Linked DNA regions of Homo sapiens: region 1 is linked to region 2. The links are contacts of gene promoters, found by promoter capture Hi-C in human tissues and cell types (Jung and others, 2019). All regions are on one chromosome and are shown on one strand. Each heading gives the region's core, a stretch centred on a gene start or on the middle of the fragment in contact. The rest is flanking DNA. Distances are from core to core; before and after follow the strand shown. Region 1 overlaps EEF1B2 (eukaryotic translation elongation factor 1 beta 2). Region 2 holds the start of ADAM23 (ADAM metallopeptidase domain 23).

The links. Contacts are between HindIII fragments. The study calls those that stand out against the background at their distance.
Region 1: a contact is called between a fragment that was not itself captured here and the fragment with the promoter of ADAM23 in region 2, in 1 of the 25 tissues and cell types used here (hippocampus).

What each region holds. Positions count from the first base shown.
Region 1 is chr2:206,162,756-206,169,022 of GRCh38, reverse strand. It overlaps EEF1B2 (eukaryotic translation elongation factor 1 beta 2), which reads right to left. Exons shown (of 6, transcript NM_001959.4): 6 at 6,095-6,267. The coding sequence ends at 6,140. Among named protein-coding and RNA genes, the nearest start is that of SNORA41, 3.7 kb to the right of the region's middle. The HindIII fragment of the contact is 6,047 bases long and covers 1,214-6,267 here.
Region 2 is chr2:206,440,470-206,446,223 of GRCh38, reverse strand. It overlaps ADAM23 (ADAM metallopeptidase domain 23), which reads right to left and starts at 2,692. Exons shown (of 26, transcript NM_003812.4): 1 at 2,144-2,692; 2 at 700-917. The coding sequence starts at 2,357. RefSeq lists a silencer at 2,118-2,247. The HindIII fragment of the contact is 14,990 bases long and covers 1-5,754 here.

The sequences.
Region 1 (6,267 bases), core at 2,988-5,487, 280 kb after region 2:
ATTGGCCCTTCAGCCATGGCTGGAGCAGCTGGGACACAGGGCACCAAGTTCCTAGGCTGCACACAGCACAGGGACCCTGGGCCCAGCACACGAAACCACTTTTTCTTTCTAGGCCTCCAGGCTTGTGATGGGAAGGGCTGCCATGAAGACCTCTGATGTACCCTGGAGACATTTTCCCCTTGTCTTGGTGATTAACATTTGGCTCCCTGTTACTTATGCAAATTTCTACAGCTGACTTGACTTTCTCCTCAGAAAATGAGATTTTCTTTTTTATTGCATTGTCAGGCTGCAAATTTTCCAAACTTTTATGCTCTGCTTCCCTTATAAAACTGAACGCCTTTAACAGCACCCAAGTCACCTCTTGAATGCTTTGCTGCTTAGAAATTTATCCCACCAGATACCCTAAATCATGGGTAAAACATATCCATGACTGGGTATCACGAGAACAGCACAAGAAAGACCTGCCCCCATGATTCTATTGCCTCCTGCCAGGTCCCTCCCCACAACACGTGGAAATTCAAGATGAGATTTGGGTGGGGACACAGCCAAACCATATCATGGCAGAAGAAATTTCTAAGCAGCAAAGCATGCAAGGGGTGACTTGGGTGCTGTTAATGGCATTCAGTTTTATAAGGACGCAGCGCATAACAGTTTGGAAAATTTGCAGCCTGACAATGCAATAGAAAAGAAAATCTCATTTTCTGAGGAGAAATCCAAGCTGGCTGCAGAAATTTGCATAAGTAATGAGGAACCAAATATTAATCACCAAGACAATGGTGAAAAATGTCTCTAGGACATGTCAAAAAAACCTTTGCAGCAGCCCCTCCTATCACAGGCCCAAAGGCCTGGGAGGAAAAAGTGGTTTCATGGGCCGGGCCCAGGGTCCCCGTGCTGTGTGCAACCTAGGGACTTGGTGCACTGCATCCCAGCCACTCCAGCCATGGTTGAAAGGGTCCAGCGTAGAGCTTGGGCCATGGCTTCAGAGGGTTCAAGCCTCAAGCCTTGGCAGCTTCCATGTAGTGTTGAGCCTGTGAGTGGACAGACATCAAGAATTGAGGTTTGAGAACCTCTGCCTAGAACAGTGTTTTAGTGTTTAAGTCTCAATTTACACAAGGTAAAATTTACCCTTATGTGATATTTTCTTATCCCTCACCATATTTTCTTATCACCTCACCTCACCTCATCATATTCATGAGAATATGAAGCAAGGATTACACTGATGAAATAGGATTAAACTGTCTAAAAGCAGGGATGAAGAACCTTCCGTATTCTGTTACCAACACATCAACTGGCCTATGAAGACCCTGGCTTGTGTTCCTCCTCTGTCACTTACTAGTGACTTAGTATATTTACTGAATAATCATGGACAAATAAGCATATCTTTTCATAGTAATAGTCCATGAAATATCAAGCATTTCTCAATGTTGCTATAGACTTACTTTTAAAAACAAAGTTTAGGCTGGGCGTGGTGGCTCACGCCTGTAATCCCAGCACTTTGGGAGGCCGAGATGGGCAGATCACTTGAGGTTAGGAGTTCAAGACCAGCCTGGCCAACATGGCAAAACTTCATCTCTACTAAAAATACAAAAATTAGCCGGGCATTGTGGCGCACACAAGTAATCCCAGCTACTTGGGAGGCTGAGGCAGGGGAATCGCTTGAACCTGGGAGGTGGAGGTTGCAATGAGCCAACATCGCACCACGGCACGCCAGCCTGGGCAATAGAGCGAGACTCCATCTCAAAAAAATAAATAAAGTTTATAAAACATTTCATTGAATACATATGCCATAATTTAGACATTTCCATCTGTGAGGATTATAAGTCATCTGATCTCCTTGCTTTCATTCGTATCACCTCCAGATCAAAGCTGTCTTAACATTAATATTCTCTGGTTTGGAAACCTCATATAATGTGCCAGCCTGTAATTCAAATATGTCTACAGGCTGGCCCCATCCTATCTAAGATTCCAAACACACACTGCAAAATCTCACGAATTTGTCTAATTGCTTCCCAAATCTTTATATCTGATTCTTCCAAAAAACTTGTCATCAATTCTAGCCGTCTCTGACCTTCTGAACTTTTAGATTATTTGCTTAATCCCCAAACCAATGACTTTTATTTTTAACAATTTTATGTTTGAATTGCCTCCCTATACTAATTTTCTCTTCTTCTGTGTTTTTTTGTTTCATCTAACAAAGTGATACGGAAGGAATCAGTTTTGAGTTCCCACACTGCCCAGCCCTCTGCTAGGGATGCCGAACATGAAAAATATTGTTTCAGGCTGGACACGTTGGCTCATACCTGTAATCCCAGTACCTTGGAAGGCCAAGGTGGAAGGATCACTTGAGTCCAGGAGTTCAAAGCCTGGGCATCATAGCAAGACCCCATCTCTAAAAAAATTTTTTTAAATTAGCTGGGTATGGTGGCACATGCCTGTAGTCCCAGCTACTCAGTAGGCTGAGGTAGAATTGCTTAAGCCTAGGAGTTCAAGGCTGCAGTGAGCCGTGATCATGCCACTGCACTCCAGCCTGGATGATAGATTGAGACCCTGTCTCAAAAAAAAAAAAAAAAAGAAAAGAAAAACTTTCATAGTCATTATAATCATTTATGGGGCATGCAAAAAAAAAAAAAGTGGGCTCTTTTTTATCTTTGCTTCCTTCTACTCTAAAGCCAGAAACAGGAAAAAAAAAAATCTCTTTGGAAACCAGTGCCTTCTGAGACTATTTGTTTAAAACAAGTTCATGAGCCAGGCGCAGCAGCTCACGCCTGTAATCCCAGCACTTTGGGAGGCTGAGGAGGGGGTATCACAAGGTCAGGAGTTTGAGACCAGCCTGGCCAACATGGTGAAACCCCATCAAACTAAAAATACAAAAAATTAGCTGGGCATAGCGGCAGGCACCTGTAATCCCAGCTACTTGGGAGGCTGAGGCAGGAGAATCGCTTGAACCCGGGAGGCAGAGGTTGCAGGGAGCTGAGATCGCACCACTGCACTCCAGCCCAGGCAACAGAGTGAGACTCCACCTCAAAAAAACAAAACAAAACAAAACAAACCAGTTCATTCAATATATTGGCTCTCAAGAAAATGAGTACCAGGGTTTTCTACTGCAGCACTGCCCATAATAACAAAACATTAAAAGCAACCTAAGAATCCAGTCAACAGGAGACTGTCTAAATGAACTATGAGAAAATGAATTATGAAATGAGAACATGAATTATGCATCTATTAAATAAGGATGTACTAATAATGGGATATCCAAGGCATAATCTCCAAGGTGTTCATTTTTTTTTTTTTTTTTTGTATTTTTAGTAGAGACAGGGTTTCACCATGTTGGCCAGGCTGGTCTCAAACTCCTGACCTCGTGATCCCCCACCTCTGGGATTACAGGTATGAGCCACCGCGCCTGGCTCTTTTTTTTTTTTTTTTGAGACAGAATGCAGTGGTACAATCTCAGCTCACTGCAATCTCCGCCTCCCGGGTTCAGGCGATTCTCCTGCCTCAGCCTCCCAAGTGGCTGGGACTACAGTCGTGCGCCACCACGGCCAGCTAATTTTTGTATTTTTAATAGACACAGGGTTTCACCATGTTGGCCAGGATTGTCTGGATCTCTTGACCTTGTGATCTGCCCACCTAGGCCTCCCAAAGTGTTGGGATTACAGGCGTGAGCCACCACACCCGGCCCCAAGGTGTTCATTTTCAAAAGGAAAATGCAAGGTGCAAAAGTCTATGTGGTGTGTTACAATTAGTCTATGCATAAGCTTACAGTGGCTCTGCAAAGACCTAAGAACCTGTTAACACTGCTTTGATGGAGCGGAACTGGAGGCCTAGGGGACAGGAGAGACTTCATTGTACATACTCTTGAGTTTTGAACTGTTGGTATATTATCTTTTTTTTTTTCTTTTGAGATGGAGTCTCACTTTTGTCGCCCAGGCTGGAGTGCAGTGGCGTGATCTCAGCTCACTGCAACCTCTGCCTCCCGGGTTCAAGCAATTCTCCTGCCTCAGCCTCCCAAGTAGCTGGGACTACAGGCGCATGCCACCACACCTGGCTAATTTTTTGTATTTTTAGTAGAGACAGGGTTTCACTGTGTTAGCCAGGATGGTCTAGATCGCCTGACCTCATGATCCAGCTGCCTCGGCCTCCCAAAGTGCTGGGAATACAGGTGTGAGACACCACATCCGGCCATGTGTTTTTTAAAATATGAAGTTAAAAGATACCATCAAAATATTTTTTATTCAAGGGTGTAGAATCAAGATTTCAAAATGGTATGCCTCATCATTCATCACTGTAGGATTCTGAAGACATCTGTGGTTTGAATTGACCATTCTAAATTTTTGACCACCTTTAAACTAATTATTAATCATTAGTTTTCTCATCATAAACTTCTGCTGATAGTTAACATTTTGGCCAAGCTATTTGGAACTCAACCCCTTCACCATGTCAATAATTGCAAATTTTTATTACCATTCACCGAAGTTTATTCATGGTTTTGGTTTTTTGTTTTTTGTGTTTCTTTTGGCATTTTCATTATTCCCAAACTCTCTGGTTTTCCAGAAAATGTAGTGCTGCCCTCTGCTGGCTCTTATGATAATGACAACCTGAAAATGTCTCCCATGACTTTTAGGCTGTTGGATTATAAACATTGCTTAGAGATATTATTCAATGTATCTATCTGTTAAATAAATCTTCCTTATAATATAGTTTCCCACAGTCAAGGCAGTCACAACATAAAATCAGATGGAGAAGAAATAGCACTGTATAGTTCTATTAAAAAATTGACCTAGGGGCTGGGCATTGTGGCTTATGCCTATAATCCCAGCACTTTGGGAGGCCAAGGTGGGTGGATCACCTGAGGTCAGGAGCTCGAGACCAGCCTGACCAAAATGGTGAAGCCCCGTATGTACTAAAAATAGAAAAATTAGCCAGGCATGGTGGCGCATGCCTGTAATCCCAGCTACTCAGGGGGCTGAGGCAGGAGAATTGCTTGAACCTGGGAGGCCGAGGTTGCAGTGAGCTGAGATCACACCACTGCACTCTAGCCCAGGCAACAGAGTGAGACTCCATCTCAAAAAAAAAAAAAAAAAAAAAATTGACCTAAAATTTTTTGATCATTTGAGATCAGCAATTCCCAAGCACTGCTTTTGTAAAACTACTATTTAAAAAAATGTATCAAATGTTAGCCAGACCCCAAATTCCCTGTTAAGATTAAACGGTTTCCAATACTTGACCATCTCTTCACTCAACATACTACCCTCATCCCAGTATTTACCTGCAGCATGAGAACCAATCAGATTTCCAAATCCAAGTAAAATATTCCGCCTCTACAACCCAGCACCTATGAATCTTCACAGCAAAGTCAAGTTTTTCTGGGAAGCCTGGGAACCAGTTACCTATATAATCCCCCTCCCAGGACACAGTGCTACTCCAAATCACATTCCCAACACTTAAAAGATGGTTTCTTTACATCATGAGTCATTATTTTAAATTTGTAACCTGTTAAGTAGTTGTAAGTCATGCCAAATTCTGGGAAGCCCTCCCTCCTCTGGGTTAGGTGTCTTCTAGCAGTGTCACACATCTCACATCAAGTTCCCAGTGCAAAGATGCTAGGTTACAACAAATCACATCATCAGGCACTGCTAAGGACATCACAAGTGGGTAAAGTTGCACTACAATTTTTTTTCTTTTGACAGGACCTTGCTCTGGCACCCAGGCTGGAGTGCAGTCGCACAACCTTGGCTCACTGCAGTTTCAACCTCCTGGGTTCAAGAAATCCTCCCACCTCAGTCTCCCAAATAGCTGGGAATACAGGGGTGCACTACCATGTCCAGCTAATTTTTATATTTTTTGTAGAGACAGGATCTCTCCCCATTGCCCAGGCTGGTATCAGCCTCCTGGTCTCGATCCAGCCACTTCAGCCTCCCAAACTGCTGGGATTACAGGCATGAACCACCACACCTGGCCTGCACTGCAATTTTCTAACAACAATGCCAAACCAAATTTGGGGTATTTAGGAATCACATATTCATTTAATTCCTTCCCCCAAAATGAAAGGAATATATACACCACCCTCCTATGTAACATACTCAAGAGCCAAAGGTAATCTTTCAATCTTTTATTTAAATGCCATGATCCAGGATGGATTTTAGATCTTGTTGAAAGCAGCCACATCCATGGACTGCACATAGTCCTCAAAAGCAGTGATCTGCTCCTCCAGCATATCTGTTCCAACTTTATCATCTTCAACTACACACTGTATTTGAAGTTTCTTAA
Region 2 (5,754 bases), core at 1,443-3,942:
TACCTTGGTAAATATCAGTTCCACTTTCTGAACTAACCTGAAAGTAAAGCAACTGCTCATAATCAATGCAGAGTAGGTACTGAAGAATTATGCCAATCAAAATTGGTCTTCATATTATGCAAATAATTTGTGTCTAGTCACCATAATCTTTTTAAATGTCAAATTGTTTACCTATTGAAAATACAACAGAAAATTTTTTTTTCCTCCTACTGATCAATTAAAGAAACAGACTGTTTAAACACTCAATTTCTAAGTGGAAAGACTGATGGAGACACTGCAGCCAAATAGCTTCTTGAAGCAATCTTGCATGTGCAGATTGAAAGCAGTTTTTATATCATGGGAGACAGTTTTATATCAAGGCAGAATACTGCACCCTTACATAAAGCCTCACAGAAACAAGTTAGAATCATAAACACATTCACTTAACTACTGTTCAGTGCCCAATGTACCTGAAAGATACATGGATATCATTTCAGGTATCAGAAAATTCTAGTTCCAGTTTAGTCAGAGAAGAGAAACAACAGTCTTATCCCAGTAGATCCCAAGTTAATTCCTTCCAGTTTCTCCCCTATCATAATATTAATTGCTTTCTTAATAAAATGCTGCAGTAAAATTTGTGAACTCAGATTCTGGCAGAAAATCAAATCAAAGGAAAACTCTTCATGATAGTTACTTTTGCATAGCCAGCCTCCTGCCTACCTTATTATGTTTTTGCTGGTGTCTTGCCTTTGTGTCAAGAACGTGATAAGGGCTTTCCGAGTCTTGGTTGATGTAATATATGAGTCTTGAAGGCAGTGTGATTTCTTTCTGCATTGCATTGCTGTAACTGATATTACTGCTGCTATTCTGTTGCAATGTATTGTCTTCATCTGCCAGGACTCCCAAATTTTTTTCTGCAGTTTCATTCCAATGCGGAGCTGGTGGAGGTAGGGGGGTGGGGGAGCAGAAAATACAAACATACACAAACACACACATATTTACCCCATAAATACATAAGCACTAAAATGCATTTTTCCTTTAATTTCAAACACAAAGTTTTCTATTTATAAGCAGTTAAGAAGTAGAGCTAGAGTAAAGCAAGTTATTTCAACAATAAAATGGCCTGGAGAAGTTAATAAATAGCCAATAAGGCTTATACAACTGTGCACTATTTATTTTGATTTATGTCTTATATATACATTTCTAGTCAGACTCAAATCTATACTTCTAAGTGTTGGGGGGGGGGTAGAATGAACTTGAGGGAAGAAGAGTCATTAAATGAACATGTTCAGGGGTCCTGCCCCCGATCTCCACCCCTTCTCTGAGTCCACAGAAGCACAACTCTACTCTGCCTAGTGGCATCCCATCCAAGAGCTAAGAACGCTCCTAAGATAACTTGAGTACTGAATTTATGGATACCGAATATTAATCGACTCTTTTAACAAAATGGACAATTCCCTTCTCTTTTAACTTTAAGATGAGCAAACATACTTTGCCATGTAGGGATACAGATGCTGGCAGCTTCCCAATTTCTTTTTATTTTCCTGACAAAGCCAGCTTTCTGCTTTCAGTGACTTCCAATCATCAATATATAGAAGATGGTATTATATTAATTGTTCATTATAATGACAAGCACTTTGAGAAATCAGAACCAAAGGTCGTGCATGAAGTATGTCTTCAGCACCTTAATTCTTTGGTCCCCGAAGTGTGCCTCCCCCACCTTAATTCCAACCGCACTGAATGCGCCGGATACGAAATTTGAGGAAACAGCCCATTACCACTATTATCACTACATCCTCCCCGCATTCACATTAAGGTTCCACCACGCAAGTAGCAACTTGCTCCCTCGCTGTATTTCCCATCCACTGGTTGCCCCTCCGCAAGTTGCACAGAGATCGCTGAGGGACCCAGGATCCACTAAACACCTCCCAGTGGAACCAACAAGAATTGGAATGGGTTTTTCGCGAATGCAACAGAAATGGACTTCCAAAAGTGAACTGGGATGAATGGGGGTTTGGGAACGAGAAGGGTGGAAAGACAGGCAGGGAGGGAAGGAAAGGCCGAGCCGGGGACAAGCCCGGAGCACACGGACCCGCGCGCCCTTCGCTTTCCTCTGCAGGGCCCCGCGGGAAAGCCAACGCAAAGGGCACGGGGCCATACCCACCGCTGGGCGCAGCAGCCCCCCAGGCGCGGGGCCGGGACGAGGCGGCGAGCGGAGGCAGCAGGAGAAGGACGAGAAGCAGGCGGCAGGGCGGCGTGCGGGCCGGGGCGCTGGCAGGCACCGAGCCGGCGGGGCCGCGTTGGGGGCCGCAGGAAGCGCCGGCAAGGCTGCAGCCCGCCAGGGGCGGCTGCCGCGAGCTGCTGCCGGGCGGCTTCATGGCTCATAGCTCCCGGGCGCCGCTCCGTGTGGCCGGCGAGAGCGCCGGGCTAGCTGCGGGGCGGCCGCGGGCGGAGCCGGTCACGCCGGCTCGGCGCGCATGGTGCCGCGGCGGGCAGGGGGCTCCGGGCTCGGGGCACGGGGCGCGGGGCTCGGGGCTGGGCGGCGCCCCCTTTCCCGGCTCGCCTAGCCTCGCAGCCACTCCCGGGGCGGGACGCAGAGGAGTCCAGGGGTCCTCGCCGCTCCGCCAACTTGGAGCCTCCCCAGCGGCTACTCCCTCCCCCGGCGGGCGCGGCCGCTTCAGCGACTGCGGGGGCTGCCGCCGGGCCTGAGGATGCTGAGGCGGCGCGCGGGAGCGAGCGGCGCGGGGACGCGCGGGAGCGAGCGGCGCGGGGACGCGCGGAGCGGGCGTGCGCCCCGCCCCCCGAGAGCGCGCCCGAGCGGGGCTTCGGGTGCTGATGCTGTTGCTGGATGCTGTGCTGCTGCTGTTGCCTGGCCCGGAACGCACTGCGCATGCTTTGTTGGGGGGCGGGGAAGGGGGTAAAGCAGCAGAGTGATGCAGCAGCCCAAGCAGCATCGGAGGTGACGGGTGGTACCTCAAAAGATGGGGGCGGTGGAGGGGGAGCCGGCAGTCACGGATAAGCCAGAAGAAAGAGAGTACGGGGGTTTCCAGGCCAGAGACAGGGATGATCGGGAGAAAACAACCAGCCGAAGTCCACCTGCCTTTTCCACCACCCCAGACTTCACATACCCTCTCCTATTCCAACCTCTTCCTGCTCTGGATAAACTAAGGCCACGCATCTCCTTCTTAATCCCTTATATATTTGCTTCCTGCATGTAAATATAAAGGATTGCAGCCGGGGAGGTAAAAATAGCGCGGCTCCTCATTCAGATTGCCAGCAGCGGGTGGGACTGCGGCTGAGAAGAGCGTTTGCGCCGCAGGCTGGCGCGGAGTGGCAGGAATCCCCCGCGCAGGGGCGCTCTGCCCCGGCCTGTGTCCTCCCTGCCGGTGCCTGGGGTCTTTGAGGAAAGCACAAGAAGCCGGACGGTGTTTGCTCAAAAGTTCAGAAAGTATGACTGGGCATATTCGGGAAGGACTTCGACATTCTGGCGGGGAAGCAATACAGAGATTAGAAACCAAGTGTGTGGCAGCTATCTTGGGAAATCCGTTGTTTGTCAACCACGGGGATGGGCACACATTTAGGAGGACACATTTCTATTTTTGAGATCCAGTCCTGACTTCTGCAGAGGAAAGGGGAAGTTTTCTCTCGTTGCTGTAAAAAATGTAAATCCCTGACTTCGGTGGGTTCGCAGCCACTAAATCTGATGGCTTCAGATAAGAGTCTGTGGCATATTTCTGCCCCCAAACTCTCATAATGCAAGCATTCATTTATTCACCCTCCCAATGACAATCTGAGTGATAACAATGTTGTCTTACTCCGACATCCACGGGGTGAGGGCTGGGGTGGAGAATTCCATGATTAAAAGAAAGAATGTGGGTATAAAAGTGCCATGGCCATGACAGAACTCAGTGTTAGCCATCATCTTCTCCACTCACACTTAACAAAGAGAAAAGAAGAAGACATATACGCGCGCGCACACACACATTACAAAACTGTTAGGTAAATACTGAGATAACTTCCTTTCTATGTTGAGCTAGGATATTATTATCACATATTTATTCCTGTAAATTTGTAATTGTTGCTACCTCCCCCATGTGAGGGCAACAACAGTTTTCCCTTCTGCACACCATTGTGTCCCTAGGACCTCACACAGTGTCTGAGGCACAGAGAAATCGCTTGGAAAATATGTACTAAATGAATAAAGAAATGGGTGATACACACAAGCAGAAGTCACACTTGGGGCAGGCTAGTGAACACTCTAGCCCCACCGGAGTGCCCACTGCAGGTCAATGTTCTTAGGGTTGTCTCCCTCAAGTCAAGTATTCTCTGGCTAGGTTTTCCAAATTTATATTTGACACAATATGCATCCTGAAAAAGGGCCTGAGAGAAAGCAAGCCAGAAAGGAGATGTACAAGCAATGAGAAGGGAGAGGGAAATGAAAGGTGCAAAGCACCCAGATGCAAGTTACTTGAAAGGCATCTCTTGCAATTCAGTGACAACCTCTTAAAGTCTGTTCTGATAAATAAACCTATCAGCCAACCTGGACTGACCAAACCCACCCACCAGTTACAACACATCATTTCATGCACTTGGGGTATGGAATGAGGATTCAATATAGTTTCTTTTTTTCTTTTTTTTTTTTTTTTTTTGAGATGGTGTCTTGCTGTGTCACCCAGGCTGGAATGCAGTAGTGCGATCTCAGCTCACTGCAACCTCTGCCTCCCAGGTTCAAGCGATTCTCCTGCCTCAGCCTCCCAAGTAGCTGGGATTAGCTGGGATTACAGGCACGTGCCACTACACCCGGCTAATTTTTGTAGTTTTAGTAGAGACGGGGTTTCACCATGTTGGCCAGGCTGTTCTCAAACTCCTGACCTCAGGTGATCCACCCACCTCAGCTTCCCAAAGTGCTGGGATTACAGGCGTGATCCACCGCACCTGGCCTCAATATAGTTTCTAATAAGGGGTTGGGGTATTTACAAAGAGGGATGTTGTCTTATGTACTATAGTCAAAAGACTGCATTTATTTACAGAACTTTAATGGTTACAGACATTGCTAGAGTCAAAATAAGATATCAATAAATGAAATAATGAGTCAGAGAAAGAGTACATTACTTAGAAAAAATTTACTGGAAGTTTAGTCTTTAAGCCATATATTTAAGGGAAGGTTAAAAACAGAATCAAATATTAACTGATTAAATAATTTAATTGGTCAACTTGGTAGAGTTAGTAATATTCTTATTAGGTAGTTCAGAATTTTTATTTTTATAGAGTTTACTTCTAAATATTCCCCTCTGTGCTTTCATAAGATTTAGTGACTTGCTTAATCACTTGCCACCTACTGCTTTGCTCTGTATTCGTGTATGTGCATATCATCATTCTTCCATCAAAAAATACTGAGAGCAAGGCTGTATCTTGGTCATCTCTGACTCCACAGCCTAGTATAGTACCTGGAATCAAATCAGCATTCATAGAGGGGCACTCACAGGTAGGAAACAGAGGGATTCAGCAAGATGGACTGGAATAAAGAAATATACCAGAAGCTTGAGTGCTATAATGGCCCTGGTTACCAATGTGTGTTGGATCCTAAGGCCATCAGAGGATCACTGGAGTGATCTAGTCACAGTGGCAGACATGGAGAAATGCTGCAGTCGTAGGTGAAGGCAGGTGGCCAGAAGGTCCATGGGAAGGAAATTACACCAGGCAATATGGACCCTAGGTAAGCACCATGAGGGGTGCATGTGAGCAATACCCAGGAAGGGTCGTCATACTGTTCAC